Linked DNA regions of Homo sapiens: regions 2, 3, 4 and 5 are each linked to region 1. Evidence: promoter capture Hi-C in human tissues and cell types (Jung and others, 2019). All regions are on one chromosome and are shown on one strand. Each heading gives the region's core, a stretch centred on a gene start or on the middle of the fragment in contact. The rest is flanking DNA. Distances are from core to core; before and after follow the strand shown.

Region 1 (2,748 bases), core at 88-2,587:
CCCAAATCTCATCTTGAATTGTAGTTCCCACAATTCCCACATGTCATGGGAGGGACCCAGTGGGAGGTAGTTGAACAATGGGGGTGGGTCTTTCCCATGCTGTTCTCATGATAGTGAATAAGTCTCACAAGATCTGATGGTTTTATAAAGGGATTTCCCCCTGCGTGAGCTCTCTCTTGCCTACCACCATGTAAGATGTCCCTTGCTCTTCTGCCATGATTGTGAGGCCTCCCCAGCCATGTGGAACTGTGAGTCAACTAAACCTCTTTCCTTTATAAATTACCCAGTCTCAGGCATGTCTTTATTAGCAGTGTGAGAACAGACGAATACATGGTCCAAGCTAGGGCTATTGATTTGAAAATCATCAAGGTATAGATGGTATCAAAGGCTTGAGGCAGGAAGAGAGCAGAGACCCTAGCTGCATTGCTTAGCATTGCATCCCTAGCACCTGGCATAGTTTCCATTAACAGTAGGCATGAAGTATCTACTCAGTGAATAAATAGAATGCATATGGGCTACAGTAGGAGAGAGAAATAAAATCTTTAATAGACCAAGTTCTATGAGAGCACAAAATTAAAGTCTTTTATTTGAAGATCTTAGCCTGTTTTCCAAATTCAGTGCAGCCAGTTAGACACTGAATCTGTCTGGTGAAACAAGCATTTTTGTATTTTGGGGGACTGCTGCTGCTTCTGACTCCAAATTAAGGATTTTTTTTTTTTCTAAAAAAGATGGCTCATGCAAAAATCACTCTTTGGTGTAAATATCTAGTCTTCAAGCAATTCTTGTAATGCAATCAGAAAGAAAAAAATCCATGGTTTGGGAGGCAAAATTTTTGTGTTCTAAATTCTATATAACTGAGTTCATTTGCTTAACTGCAAAGCAGGAGCTGCTAGTGCCTGTCTGTACTGAGGTTCAGAGAGACTGTGGGAATATGGGGGAATTAGAGGCTATCTGAGGCTCTTCAACACAATAACCCAAGAAGCTATTTAAATGCTCTTTAAGGTATTTACATAAATATTACTATTCTCATTGTGCTTTTATTTTGTGTTATCATGATTATAATTGAAGTGTCTACTGTTACTGCCTCCTGATCTTTGCTAGCTATGGAGCATGGACTGGGCTTTTAGAGCAGCAGCCCCAAAGGAACCTAAACATTAAAGCAGAGCTGCCCTCAATGGTTTAACCTGTGTGACTCTGCCTATGACAGCCCCACCCACCCATCTTCACTGGATCCAAATCAGGAGCAAGGCCGTTGGGGTACCTGGTGGGGGTGATGCTGTCAGGGGAGGAGCCCAAAAGGGCAAGCTCAAATTTGAATGTGAAGGGCCAATGCACTGTCAGACTAAGACAGAGAACCATCATTAATTGAAGTGAGATTTTTCTGGCCTGAGACTTGCAGGGAGGCAAGAAGACACTCTGGACACCACTATGGACAGGTAAAGAGGCAGTCTTCTCGTGGGTGATTGCACTGGCCTTCCTCTCAGAGCAAATCTGAGTAATGAGACTGGTAGCTATCCCTTTCTCTCATGTAACTGTCTGACTGATAAGATCAGCTTGATCAATATGCATATATATTTTTTGATCTGTCTCCTTTTCTTCTATTCAGATCTTATACGCTGTCAGCCCAATTCTTTCTGTTTCAGACTTCTCTTGATTTCCCTCTTTTTCATGTGGCAAAAGAAGTAGTGCGTACAATGTACTGATTCGTCCTGAGATTTGTACCATGGTTGAAACTAATTTATGGTAATAATATTAACATAGCAAATCTTTAGAGACTCAAATCATGAAAAGGTAATAGCAGTACTGTACTAAAAACGGTAGTGCTAATTTTCGTAATAATTTTGTAAATATTCAACAGTAAAACAACTTGAAGACACACTTTCCTAGGGAGGCGTTACTGAAATAATTTAGCTATAGTAAGAAAATTTGTAATTTTAGAAATGCCAAGCATTCTAAATTAATTGCTTGAAAGTCACTATGATTGTGTCCATTATAAGGAGACAAATTCATTCAAGCAAGTTATTTAATGTTAAAGGCCCAATTGTTAGGCAGTTAATGGCACTTTTACTATTAACTAATCTTTCCATTTGTTCAGACGTAGCTTAACTTACCTCTTAGGTGTGAATTTGGTTAAGGTCCTCATAATGTCTTTATGTGCAGTTTTTGATAGGTTATTGTCATAGAACTTATTCTATTCCTACATTTATGATTACTATGGATGTATGAGAATAACACCTAATCCTTATACTTTACCTCAATTTAACTCCTTTATAAAGAACTTACATTACAGAATAAAGATTTTTTAAAAATATATTTTTTTGTAGAGACAGGGTCTTAGCCCAGCCGAGGCTGGTCTCTAAGTCCTGGCCCAAGCGATCCTCCTGCCTGGGCCTCCTAAAGTGCTGGAATTATAGACATGAGCCATCACATCCAATATACAGAATAAAGATTTTTAATGGAGGATTTAATGTTCTTCAGAAAATTTTCTTGAGGTCAGACAATGTCAAATGTCTCCTCAGTTTACACTGAGATTTTGAAAACAAGTCTGAGCTATAGGTCCTTGTGAAGGGTCCATTGGAAATACTTGTTCAAAGTAAAATGGAAAGCAAAGGTAAAATCAGCAGTTGAAATTCAGAGAAAGACAGAAAAGGAGAAAAGATGAAATTCAACAGGACAGAAGGGAAATATATTATCATTAAGGAGGACAGTATCTGTAGAGCTCATTAGTGATGGCAAAATGACTTGGTC
Region 2 (2,748 bases), core at 86-2,585, 450 kb before region 1:
ATATTATCCATCTATTGTGTCAGGTGATTTTTTATACAATATATAAATATATCAGATACATTATCCATCTATTGTGTCAGGTGATTTTTTATACAATATATAAATATATCAGATATATTATCCATCTATTGTGTCAGGTGATTTTTTATACAATATACAAATATATCAGATATATTATCCATCTATTGTGTCAGGTGATTTTTTATACAATATATAAATATATCAGATACATTATCCATCTATTGTGTCAGGTGATTTTTTATACAATATATAAATATATCAGATATATTATCCATCTATTGTGTCAGGTGATTTTTTATACAATATATAAATATATCAGATATATTATCCATCTATTGTGTCAGGTGATTTTTTATACAATATATAAATATATCAGATATATTACATATCTATTGTGTCAGGTGATTTCTTATACGATATATAAATATATCAGATATATTATCCATCTATTGTGTCAGGTGATTTTTTATACACTATATAAATATATCAGATATACTATACAGTTCAGCCCATCAAAGCACCATATTTTGGGGGGTTGGTTTCCGTGTCCCAACACTAGCTACGAAAATATTAGCTATTAGCTACCTATAACTCTTCAGTAGTAAATTCAAGAAACGTAAAGTAATTCTCTTCATTAAGTTCTTGCCTTGTCTACTAAAAAAATGGTCATCACCGATGTGGACAATGAAGACCTGTGGGGTTAAAAGCTCTAACTAGTATGCCTCCAAGATTCTTTGATTGCCTGCCATCATGATCGAAGAATAAATAACTTCTTTTTCATCTTATTTATTTATTTTTTGTAGAGATAGGGTCTCGCTATGCTGCCCAGGCTGGTCTCAAACTCCTGGGCTCAAGAGATCCTTCTACTTAAGCCTCTCAAAGTGCTGGAATTACAGGGGTGAGTCACCACGACTGACCATTAATAATTTCTTTCAATGACACTTTAACATAGGCTCATTCATCTTTACCTCTAAAGAAAAGTCTTTCTGGTCTTTTTAAAATTATATTTTTTGGCCAGGCACAATGGCCAGGTGCGGTGGCTGACACCTGTAATCCTAGCACTTTGGGAGGCCAAGGTAGGAAGATTGCTTGAGGCCAGGAGTGCAAGACCAACCTGGCAAACATCTGGAAAACATAGCAAGGCCCCATCTCTATTAAAAAAAAATTAATTCTATTTTTCTAAGAGAAAAAAGATTCCCAATTCAACAACACTTTTCAAAAACTTTATCTGGCAGCTACTCAGGAGATTGAGATGGGAGGATCATATGAAGCCCAGGAATTCAAAACCAGTGTGGGCAACATAGTGAGATCCTATCTCATAAAAAAATAAAAAATAAAAAAAGCTTTACTTGGAATACAACCCATGACTCTGGTTATAAATACAAAATTCTTCAAATTCATTTAAAGGAATTTAATCCTAGCTTCTCGGATGAAAAAAGGAAATAATATTCACAATTTGATCCATCATCAGTAGACAAGTTAAATGTGTTTCACAAAAGCAAGACATATTAATTAAGCAAAATCATATTCGAGTAACCACAGGAAATATAAATATACTGTCTCTTACCTAGAGAAATCTTATAGTCTAATTGTGAAGATAGTCTTCACGTGACGAAAAAGATCATCATTAATCCAAAACATATAAGTTATAAAGAAGCGACATATACCAGCAATTCTAAAATCTGGTTAGCATCCTTTGTAGAATTTATTTTAAAATGCAGATATCCAGGTCTCATCAATAAAGATTTAATTAATTATTTTTGGGGATGTGCTCAGACATCTGCGTTTTTTGTTTTTTGTTTTCGTTTTTTTGTTTTTTGAGATGGAGTCTCACTCTGTTGCCCAGGCTGGAGTGCAATGGCGCAATCTCAGCTCACTGCAACCTCTGCTCCCAGGTTCAAGCAATTCTTCTGCCTCAGCCTCCCTAGGAGCTGGAACTATAGGCGCCCACCACCACGTTGGGCTAACAGGCATCTATGTTTTTAATGAACTCTGTAGGTGGTTCTATCATGCAGTTAGTTTTCAGAACCATTCACACTGACAGTAAAGGCTATTTATTCCCAGCAGTTGAAAGACCACTAAGGACACAGGAATAGTTAGCAAAGCTACTTAAAGATGCCAGGGCTGGGGCCGGGTGCGATGGCTCACGCCTGTAATCCCAGCACTTTGGGAGGCCAAGGTGGGCAGATCATGAGGTCAGGAGATCGAGACCATCCTGGCTAACACAATGAAGCCCCGTCTCTACAAACAAACAAACAAACAAACAAAATACAAAAAATTAGCCGGATGTGGTGGCGGGCACCTGTAGTCCCAACTACTCGGGAGGCTGAGGCAGCAGAATGGCTTGAACCCAGGAGGCGGAGCTTGCAGTGAGCCGAGATCACGCCACTGCACTCCAGCCTGGGCGACAGAGCGAAACTCCATCTCAAAAAAAAAAAAAAAAAAAAAAAAAAGATGCCAGGGCTGGCTGGGCACAGTGGCTCACACCTGTAACCCCAACACTTTGGTTTGGGAGGCCAAGGCGGATGGATTGCTTGAGTTCAGGGGTTCAAGACCAGCCCAGGAAACATGGCAAAACCTCATCTCTACCAAAAACACAAAAATTAGCCGGGCATAGTGGCATGCACCTGTGGTCCCAGCTACTCAGGAGGCTGAGGTGGGAGGATAGCTGGAGCCTGGGAAGCTGCAGTGATCAGTGATCATGTCACCACACTCCAGCCTCGGTGA
Region 3 (2,748 bases), core at 80-2,579, 420 kb before region 1:
AAAATCAATTCACTGAGACTACGGCATAGCAGTAAAGAAAGAGTTTGATTGACAGGAGGCTAACTCATGTAGTAGAACCAGAAATATCACTCAAATCAGTCTCCCTGAAGGCTCAAAGTTTTGGGGGTTTTAAAGGATAGTTGGTGGTCAGAGGGCTAGAGAATGGGGAATATTGATTGATTGGGGTAAAATCATAGGAGTGTGGAAAATAGTCTTCATGCACTGAATTGGCCTCTGGGTAGGGCTACAGGACTGATTGACTCATGAGTTGCAGGTCTGGCCCGAGTCAGCTGGTCATGAGAAACGTTAACAGTCTGAAAAAAATCTCAAAAGGCCAATCTTGGGTTCTATAACAGTTGATGTCATCTACAGGAGTAATTGGGGAAGTTACAAATCTTGTGACCTCCAGAACAATGGCTGGTTATCGTTTCACTTTGCCTACATTTTAGCAGAATTCAGGCCCCTCTCATAATTCCTAATCCTAACCTGTGGCCTTTCATTAGTTTTACAGAGGTGGTTTAGTTTTAGGAGAGGGCTATTATCATCTTTGCTCTAAGGTTAAAGTATAAATTAAGTGCCTCCTGAAGTTAGTTTGGCCTACACTGAGGAATCACCGAAGACATCTTGTAGCTTAGAAGCAAAATGGAGTCAACTATGTCAGTTTTCTCTTACTGTCATAATTTCGCAAAGGTGGTTTCAATCAGTCTCTATCTTTTCCTGATATGGGCTGTTGGTAATTGTCCTTAGACCAGTTTGGAAAGTCCTGTAGGGTAAGCTAAGAACTCTCTTTGGAATATAGGATTTCTTAACACCTATTGTTCTCAGCTTTAGATTTTAGCCAAAATTCTGAGTCAACCAAAAACACTCTTTCTAATATTTTATTATACTCATCACTGAGTAGCTTTTTGCACCCTCAAAAAAATCAATTAATCATAGGTGAGCTTCTGTGATGATTAATTTTATGTGTCAGCTTAACAGGGCCATGAAATATCCATATATCTGGTTAAGTATTACTTCTGCGTGTGTCTGTTCAGGTGTTTCCACTAGAGATTAGTATTTAAATTAGTGGACTGAGTAGATTCTCCCCCAGAAGGAACCATCCCTGCCAACACTTTGACTTTGGGCCTCCAGAACTGTCAGACCATACATTTCCGCTGGCTTTAGCCACCAAGTTTATGGTACTTTGTCAGGGCAGCACTAGGAAATTAATACGGGTCAGACAAACTCAACCAATTGTCAGCCAGAAAAGATTTAAATTTACCTTTAGCCTGGAAGCCCTTGCTTTGAGTTGTCCCACCTTTCTGAGCGAAACCAATGCATTTCTTAAGTGTGTTTGATTGATGTGTCATGACTCCCTGAAATATATAAAACTAAGCTGTGCCCCGACCACCTTGGGCACATGTTCCCAGGACCTCCTGAGGGCTGCGTCGTGGGCCATGGTCACTCATATTTAGCTCAGAATAAATCTTCAAATATTTTATAGAGTTTGACTCTTTTTGTTGACAATATTTTGGTGCCCAAATACATGAGGCCTCAGAGAAGACTCAGGACCCTGAAAGAGTTGCCCGAAACCAGAGCTAAGGTACCAGCAGCGGCCCGTTGAAGTCCCACTGAGTTCAAGCTTCTCCCCCGGTGGAACGGGTAAGTCCTCCTGAGCCCCAGACCTCCCTTTGTTTGACAGTCCTTGATTTATTCTGAGCTGGTTTTCTCCTAGGAAATTGTTGTTTAAGGATCCTAATTCTAATTCAGAGATGCATTCTAAAGGGAATTCTCTATTGCTTTTTCTCCTAAAATTTATCTTGATTCTGAGGAACTGAACTGTTGTTTTCAAAGCTAAATGAGAGACTGAGTTTTTCAGCTCTGAAGACAAAGGGCTTTTGCCCCTCCCAGCCTAAAGGTGCCCCTGGGTGACCAGGGGCCTCACAGGAGTGCCTGAGGGGTTGAGCCCTCACCACGTGCAGCAGCCCTGCAGGGAAATCCCCAACAAAAATTAATTCTAAAATGTTAAAATTAATTTCTGCCCACAGTCTCATGCCATTGCAAGCTAGGCCTCCACAATTTGACCATTCTCTCACTACCCCCTGCCGGGAGATGCTATCTGGTGTGCTCACTGCAATCCCTGTTACATTGAAAACAGGTTACCCTATCTTATCAACCTTTACATAGAACATCCCCACTCCTCTTTGCCTTAACTACAAGCCAACTGTTTCTTAAAATTATGTCCTCTCAAAATGAGGCTACTAAGTTGCAAGGAGAGTAGAAGTAGTGGAAGAGAGGAAAGTCAGCATTTGTGTTATTGTGGTTTTCCTTGCTGACTCCATACCATTGTTTTTTATCATGTAAAAATAGTTCCTTTAGGCTGGGCACAGTGGCTCACGCCTGTAATCCCAGCACTTTGGGAGGCCGAGGCGGGCAGATCACAAGGTTAGGAGTTCGAGACCAGTCTGGCCAGCATAGTGAAACCCCGTCTCTACTAAAAATACAAAAAATTAGCCAGGTGTGGTGGTGGGCTGCTGTAATCTCAGCTACTTGGGAGGCTGAGGCAGGAGAATCATGTGAATCCGGGAGGTAGAGATTGCAGTGAGCCAAGACCTTGCCATTGCACTCAAGCCCGGGCAACAGTGCGAGACTCCATGTCAAAAAGAAAAAAAAAATGGTTCCTTTAATGGATAGTGATAATGGCTGCACAACATGGTGAATATAATTAATGTCACTGAATTATACACTTGAAAATGGTTAAAGTGATAA
Region 4 (2,748 bases), core at 159-2,658, 380 kb before region 1:
AGAGAAGAAGAGGGAAGGGGAAGAATATAGTATCCCCCCCAAATCACAGATTCCTTCTGTTCCTTAAAAGAGGATACATGATACATTTAAATAGCAGTTTAAAAACAAAAACAAAAACAAAACAAAAACCCTACATTTTCTAAATGTTTGCATTTACCATTTCCTGATTGTCCGTTATCACAAGGAGGTGTGAGTCTCTGGCTAGGCAGAATTCCAGACTAGAATTCCAGTCCTTTTCCTCCACTGAGAAATAATAACAATGGTTACCATATTTCATCCAGCGGTCTGGGCAGCTAGGACAGCTGGCACAAGTGGAGTAGTTGGAGCCTAGGAGAGAAGAGGACCTGGTTCACATCTTTATGGACCACTCAGTCTTGGAAATGAAATGGGAGATAAAATGGAATATGGCAGCCCTGGGTCTTCCCTGCTCCACCACTTTTCAGATTAAGGGTTAGAGAAATGTGTAACAATGCGTGGTGTCAATTTGAATACCTCATAATGTCCTCATAATGTCCAACTCCATCATCTACTAAGTATATATTCCACTACACAAGAATATGACTATAACTGAAGGAACAAAGAAGAAAGCATACAACAATCTGCCTGAAAACTCTGGAGCAAGTACTTGACTTGTGCTAGAGATCTCTGTGCACATGTAATATACACACACCAGATAACTGTGAATTCATATGATATGCATCTGTGTACTGTCTTTGCTCTGTGTATATATTGCATAATTGCATAATGTATATTGCTTAAATCAGGCAGAATCATTCAGAATGCCCAACTGAAAATGCCAAAAAGAAATTAGGAAAAGCAAACTTAACTAGAATGAAAGGTTTTGCTTTTTTATTATCACAGATGTAACTGTCCCTCACCATTGAAAACTGGAAAAAAACCCTTATACCTCAGCAAAAAGAACTTACTTTGATATTTTTCAAAAGGGTTTTCTGGCAGAGAAGCATAACAGGTGCTAAAGTGAAAAGTGATAGAATGCCCTAACCGAGCTCTTTTAAATACGGAAGATCCACATTCCTTTAAAATGGTTGGTTCATAGTTCTGTCAAGATGAAAGGGAACTGACCAGGCATGGTGGCTCACTCTTGTAATCCCAGCACTTTGGGAGGCCGAGGCAGGTGGCTCACATGAGGCCAGGAGTTCAAGATCAGTCTAGCCAACATGGTGAAACCTCATCTCTACTAAAAATACAAAAAAATCAGCTGGGCATGGTGGCACCCGCCTGTAATCCCAGCTACTTAGGAGCTGAGGCATGAGAATCACTTGAACCCAGGAGGCAGAGGTTGCAGTGAGCCAAGATCACACCACTGCACTCCTGCCTGGGCGACAGAGCAAGACACTGTCTCAAAAACAAACAATCAAAGATGAAAGGGAACTGAATATGCTTTCAAGGTAATTCCAACCAAGATTCCAAAATTCTATTGATTTTTCTACTTCAGTTTCAATACTTAAACATATGTGCATAAACTCGCCATAAGCACAATTCTACAGTGAGCAAGTATGAGCCATTATACTCCATGAGCACATGTGTAGATATATAATTGCAGAATAGAGTATATATCTACTCTAGATTTGGGAGTTACAAAGTGGGGAAAGTAGTATTTTTCATATAAATATTAGATAATTGTTCTCTAGGAAGTACTGGCATACAACCAATATAAGTTCTGGAGATCAAGCTGTTAAATTGGCACCTTATAGATTTTGCTTTTTCCATACAACTGTGACATTACTCAGCCTGGATTAGAAATTCCCAACTTCCCTAGGAGTTCCTTTTTGTCAAAGGTCGGACTTGGCTCTGAGGTAGAAGCCCTGGAGCTGAACTCTTAGAATCCTAATAAATCGGCAGAGCGCAATGGCTCACACCTGTAATCCCAGCACTTGGGGAGGCCAAGGCGGGCAGATCACAAGGTCAGGAGTTCGAGACCAGCCTGGCCAACATAGTGAAACCCCGTCTCTAATAAAAATACAAAAAATTAGCTGGGCGTGGTGGCAGGTGCCTGTAATCCCAGCTACTCGGGAGGCTGAGGCATGAGAATCGCTTGAACCTGGGAGGCAGAGGTTGCAGTGAGCCGAGATCACGCCATTGCACTCCAGCCCAAACAACATTGCGAGATTCTGTCTCAAAATTTTTAAAAAAATTTAAAAAAGAACCCTAATAAATCACTTCTGTGTAATCGGTCACTATCATCCCCTAAAAATATAAACCTAAGCTAGGACTCTAGACTGTAAAACAACAAACTGAGAGTCCTCTAGATCACCAGATTTAAGGTCCTAGAAGAACTAAACTTAAAAATTAGTTTTAGAAAATGTGAAAGCACCTGAATGGCAAAAAAAAAAAAAAAAAAAATTCAGAATGTTTCATTACATTATGATATATCTATTATGTGAAAAGTTAAACATCATTAATATTATAATTCAATCATCCCAATAAATATGGCAGTAAGGAAATGTTTCTGGCAACATAAAATTAAAAAGCAATATACAAAATTATGAGCATACTACGATAAGAACTATTCTCAGCCTTGCATTAAAAGAAAGAAAGGTGGGAGAAATTTTAAGAGGACTTGACTGCAGTTCTATTAAGAAAATATGGTCAGGTGCAGTGGCTCACACCTATAATCCCAGCACTTTGGGAGGCCAAGAAGGGCAAATGGCTTGAGCCCAGGAGTTTGAGATCAGCCTGGGCAACATGGTGAAATGTCTTTACAAAAAAAAAAAAATAATAATAATA
Region 5 (2,748 bases), core at 152-2,651, 300 kb before region 1:
TGCTTGAATTAGACTTTTCTTTTTCAAACAAAATGGTTCTTCTGAATGGAGGCTACAGAATGTCTTTACTCTGCATAACACTGAAGGCCATTAGCCTAAACAGGTGAGAAGGAAAAGCATTTAATCCGGTGTATGGAAATGGAAGCCCTCCTGCAAACTTCTCTAAATAAGGAAGGATCCTGGTTTGAAAGGCTGTCGATGTTTGGCAGCAACTGAAGCAAATAGACTAGAAGTTAAGCTAATAGAACTTTTCATATCAACTGAACATTGCTTAAGCATTCCTCAAGCTTCTCCTGTAAACCTAGCATTCTGCAATAAATTGTGAAGGAAGAGATGTCCTTTACCCTAAAGGTGTTAGTATCTTTGGAATGTGTCTTTCTACAAGTAATCAAGTAAGAATGTGTGACCATGTTTTTATGCAAATATGGATAGGAAGAAGTAGAGAAAAAAGGAAATCATAACCTTTACTCTCCCCACCACCAACTGTGGCTGTGAACCACCATACACAGCCCACCTGTGTCTCACTATAATTCTGCATGCCACTTTAAGGTCTAGTTGGGAGAAAATGAAGATTGAGTGGATTTATAGGCTCTTAGATATTTAAAGGAAAAAAAAAGAACTTTAAAACTAAGCCCCTCAGTTTTCAGTGAAGACAATTGAAGTCTAAATGATAAATGTAGAAGAGGGATATTTCGTAATCCCTGGAAAATAGAAAATGTCCAATAAATATTAGTTAACTGAATTAATTTCCTAGATTCTTGCCCTTCTCTCATAGGAAAAGAATATGAAATTAAAAGATATAAAGGATACCTCTCATCTCTCGCTACTAATACCTACCATAGATCCTTTCTTCAAGCAGAAGTTTAAAATTAACATACTAATTGGTTCAGCCCAATATTCCATCCATCATTGCCCGCAAAAGATATAGAAGTACCCCTACATCCTTAAGGAGCATAAGACTGACGATAACATACTCTTCATCAGTATTGACAGTTATAATGATGGCAAGTTATGCACCTTTCCTTAACTTTGGTTTGCTTTCAGTAAAACAGGGGTAACACCTGGTAGTTGGTGGAAATAAGTGAGATGTTTGTAAAGCACTTCACATTGGGACCTGACACATAGCACAGGCTATTATTAATTTTCCTTAGTAACTAATATATTTTTGTGATCACCAAATAGAACTAAACCATTCTTTATGTTTTATTCAGTTTACATCACAACCTTATTAACTCACAATTTAGTTGAGTTTATGCATTAATTAGTTTAGTGAACTTACTATTATTTTATATAACAAAGAGTATTCCCTTCCTTGTATACTAAATTTACCTCTTTCGGGCTTCAGGTGTGTCGTCTTGTCTACTATTTCAGTATTTAGGGAGCAAAACCATGTTGGGACCAAGCACTAGATTTATACCCTCTGGGATTATGTGTCCTAGGCCCAGAGAACCAGGTACCTGGGAAAACATCTAAAGGGAAAAACAATTCAAAATATACTTAGAGCCTCTGCTCATGGCCTCACATGCATTATTGCATTCAACTCAATAACCTTTTCTGCTAGCTGTTTTTAATCCTTAATTTATAGATGAGGAAATTAAAGCTCTGGAAGATTAGGTAAATTGCTCAAGGTTCATAGGTGTAATAAGTAATGGAGTCAGAATTTAAATTCAGGTCTGTCCATCTTCAAAGCTCATAACTACATTATATCCTTCACAGTGTGAAAATAGAGTGATGCAAAAGATCTATTTAAAATGCTTAGCACACACATAAACATTTGCACAAAGAAGCTTGGCATTTGCCATGGTAAATACCTGCAATGGAAGGCCACTCTGCCTTTGTTAACTAGAGAAATAGCTCTAGTTATCAGTCTGTAAAGACACTGTGGAGATGTCTCAGCAGAAAATAGAGATATATATATTATTTCCCTAAATTGGCTGTTTTCTCTCTTGTCTACTGATAAACTGTGGTAAGCAGAACAATGCCCCCCCACCAAGGATGTCCCCATCTGTGAAATCTGTGAATACGTTATGCTCCATGGCAAAAAGAAATTAAAGTTGCAATTGGAATTAAGGTTGTTAATCAGTTGACCTTAAAATAGGGAGATTATCATGGATTACCTTGGCAACCCAGTGTAATCACAAGCGTCCTTAAAAGTGGACGAGGGAGGCAGGAAAGACAGGTTCAGTGATGTGACATGAGAAGTATTTAACCTGTCATTTCTGTCTTTGACACTGGAAGGGGGCCACAAGCCACGTAAGGTGGGAAGCCTTCAGAAGCCAGAAAAAGCAAGGAAATGGATCCTCCCCAGAGCTTCCAGAAAAGAACACAGACAGCCCTGCTGACACCTTGATTTTCACCCAGTGAGACGCATGTCAGACTTCTTTCTTTTTTTCTTATGTTATTTATTTATTTATTTTAATTTTTATTATGTTCTTTTTGAGACTCTTTTTGAGTCTCACTCTGTCACCCAGGCTGGAGTGCAGTGGCGTGACCTTAGCTCACTGCAGCCTTGACCTCCCAGGTTCAAGCAATTCTCATGCCTCAGTTTCCCAAGTAGCTGGGATTACAGGCGCCTGCCACCATGCCCCGCCCAGCCTATTTTTGTATTTTTAGTAGAGACAGGGTTTTTGTTTTTTTGTTTTTTTGTTTTTTTTTTTGAGACGGAGTCTCACTCTGTTGCCCAGGCTGGAGTGCAGTGGCACGATCTCGGCTCACTGCAACCTCCACCTCCCAGGTTCAAGAGATTCT

The links. The method cuts DNA at HindIII sites, captures the fragments that hold promoters and counts their contacts. A contact is called where the count stands out against the background at its distance.
Region 2: a fragment that was not itself captured here is called in contact with the fragment with the promoter of AICDA in region 1 in 1 of the 25 tissues and cell types used here (adrenal gland).
Region 3: a fragment that was not itself captured here is called in contact with the fragment with the promoter of AICDA in region 1 in 1 of the 25 tissues and cell types used here (H1 embryonic stem cells).
Region 4: a fragment that was not itself captured here is called in contact with the fragment with the promoter of AICDA in region 1 in 1 of the 25 tissues and cell types used here (aorta).
Region 5: a fragment that was not itself captured here is called in contact with the fragment with the promoter of AICDA in region 1 in 2 of the 25 tissues and cell types used here (H1 embryonic stem cells and liver).

What each region holds. Positions count from the first base shown.
Region 1 is chr12:8,611,448-8,614,195 of GRCh38, reverse strand. AICDA (activation induced cytidine deaminase) reads left to right here and starts at 1,337. Exons shown (of 5, transcript NM_020661.4): 1 at 1,337-1,436. The coding sequence starts at 1,429. The HindIII fragment of the contact is 12,992 bases long and covers 1-2,748 here.
Region 2 is chr12:9,059,723-9,062,470 of GRCh38, reverse strand. All of the region lies in intron 1 of LINC00612 (long intergenic non-protein coding RNA 612), which reads left to right. It also overlaps a transcript of KLRG1 not described here. Among named protein-coding and RNA genes, the nearest start is that of LINC00612, 4.0 kb to the left of the region's middle. The HindIII fragment of the contact is 7,716 bases long and covers 1-2,748 here.
Region 3 is chr12:9,030,315-9,033,062 of GRCh38, reverse strand. It overlaps a transcript of KLRG1 not described here. Among named protein-coding and RNA genes, the nearest start is that of LINC00612, 33 kb to the left of the region's middle. The HindIII fragment of the contact is 4,513 bases long and covers 1-2,748 here.
Region 4 is chr12:8,992,698-8,995,445 of GRCh38, reverse strand. KLRG1 (killer cell lectin like receptor G1) reads right to left here. Exons shown (of 5, transcript NM_005810.4): 3 at 158-327. Among named protein-coding and RNA genes, the nearest start is that of KLRG1, 4.5 kb to the right of the region's middle. The HindIII fragment of the contact is 5,260 bases long and covers 1-2,748 here.
Region 5 is chr12:8,909,406-8,912,153 of GRCh38, reverse strand. No RefSeq gene overlaps it. Among named protein-coding and RNA genes, the nearest start is that of PHC1, 3.7 kb to the left of the region's middle. RefSeq lists an enhancer at 1-512. The HindIII fragment of the contact is 5,079 bases long and covers 1-2,748 here.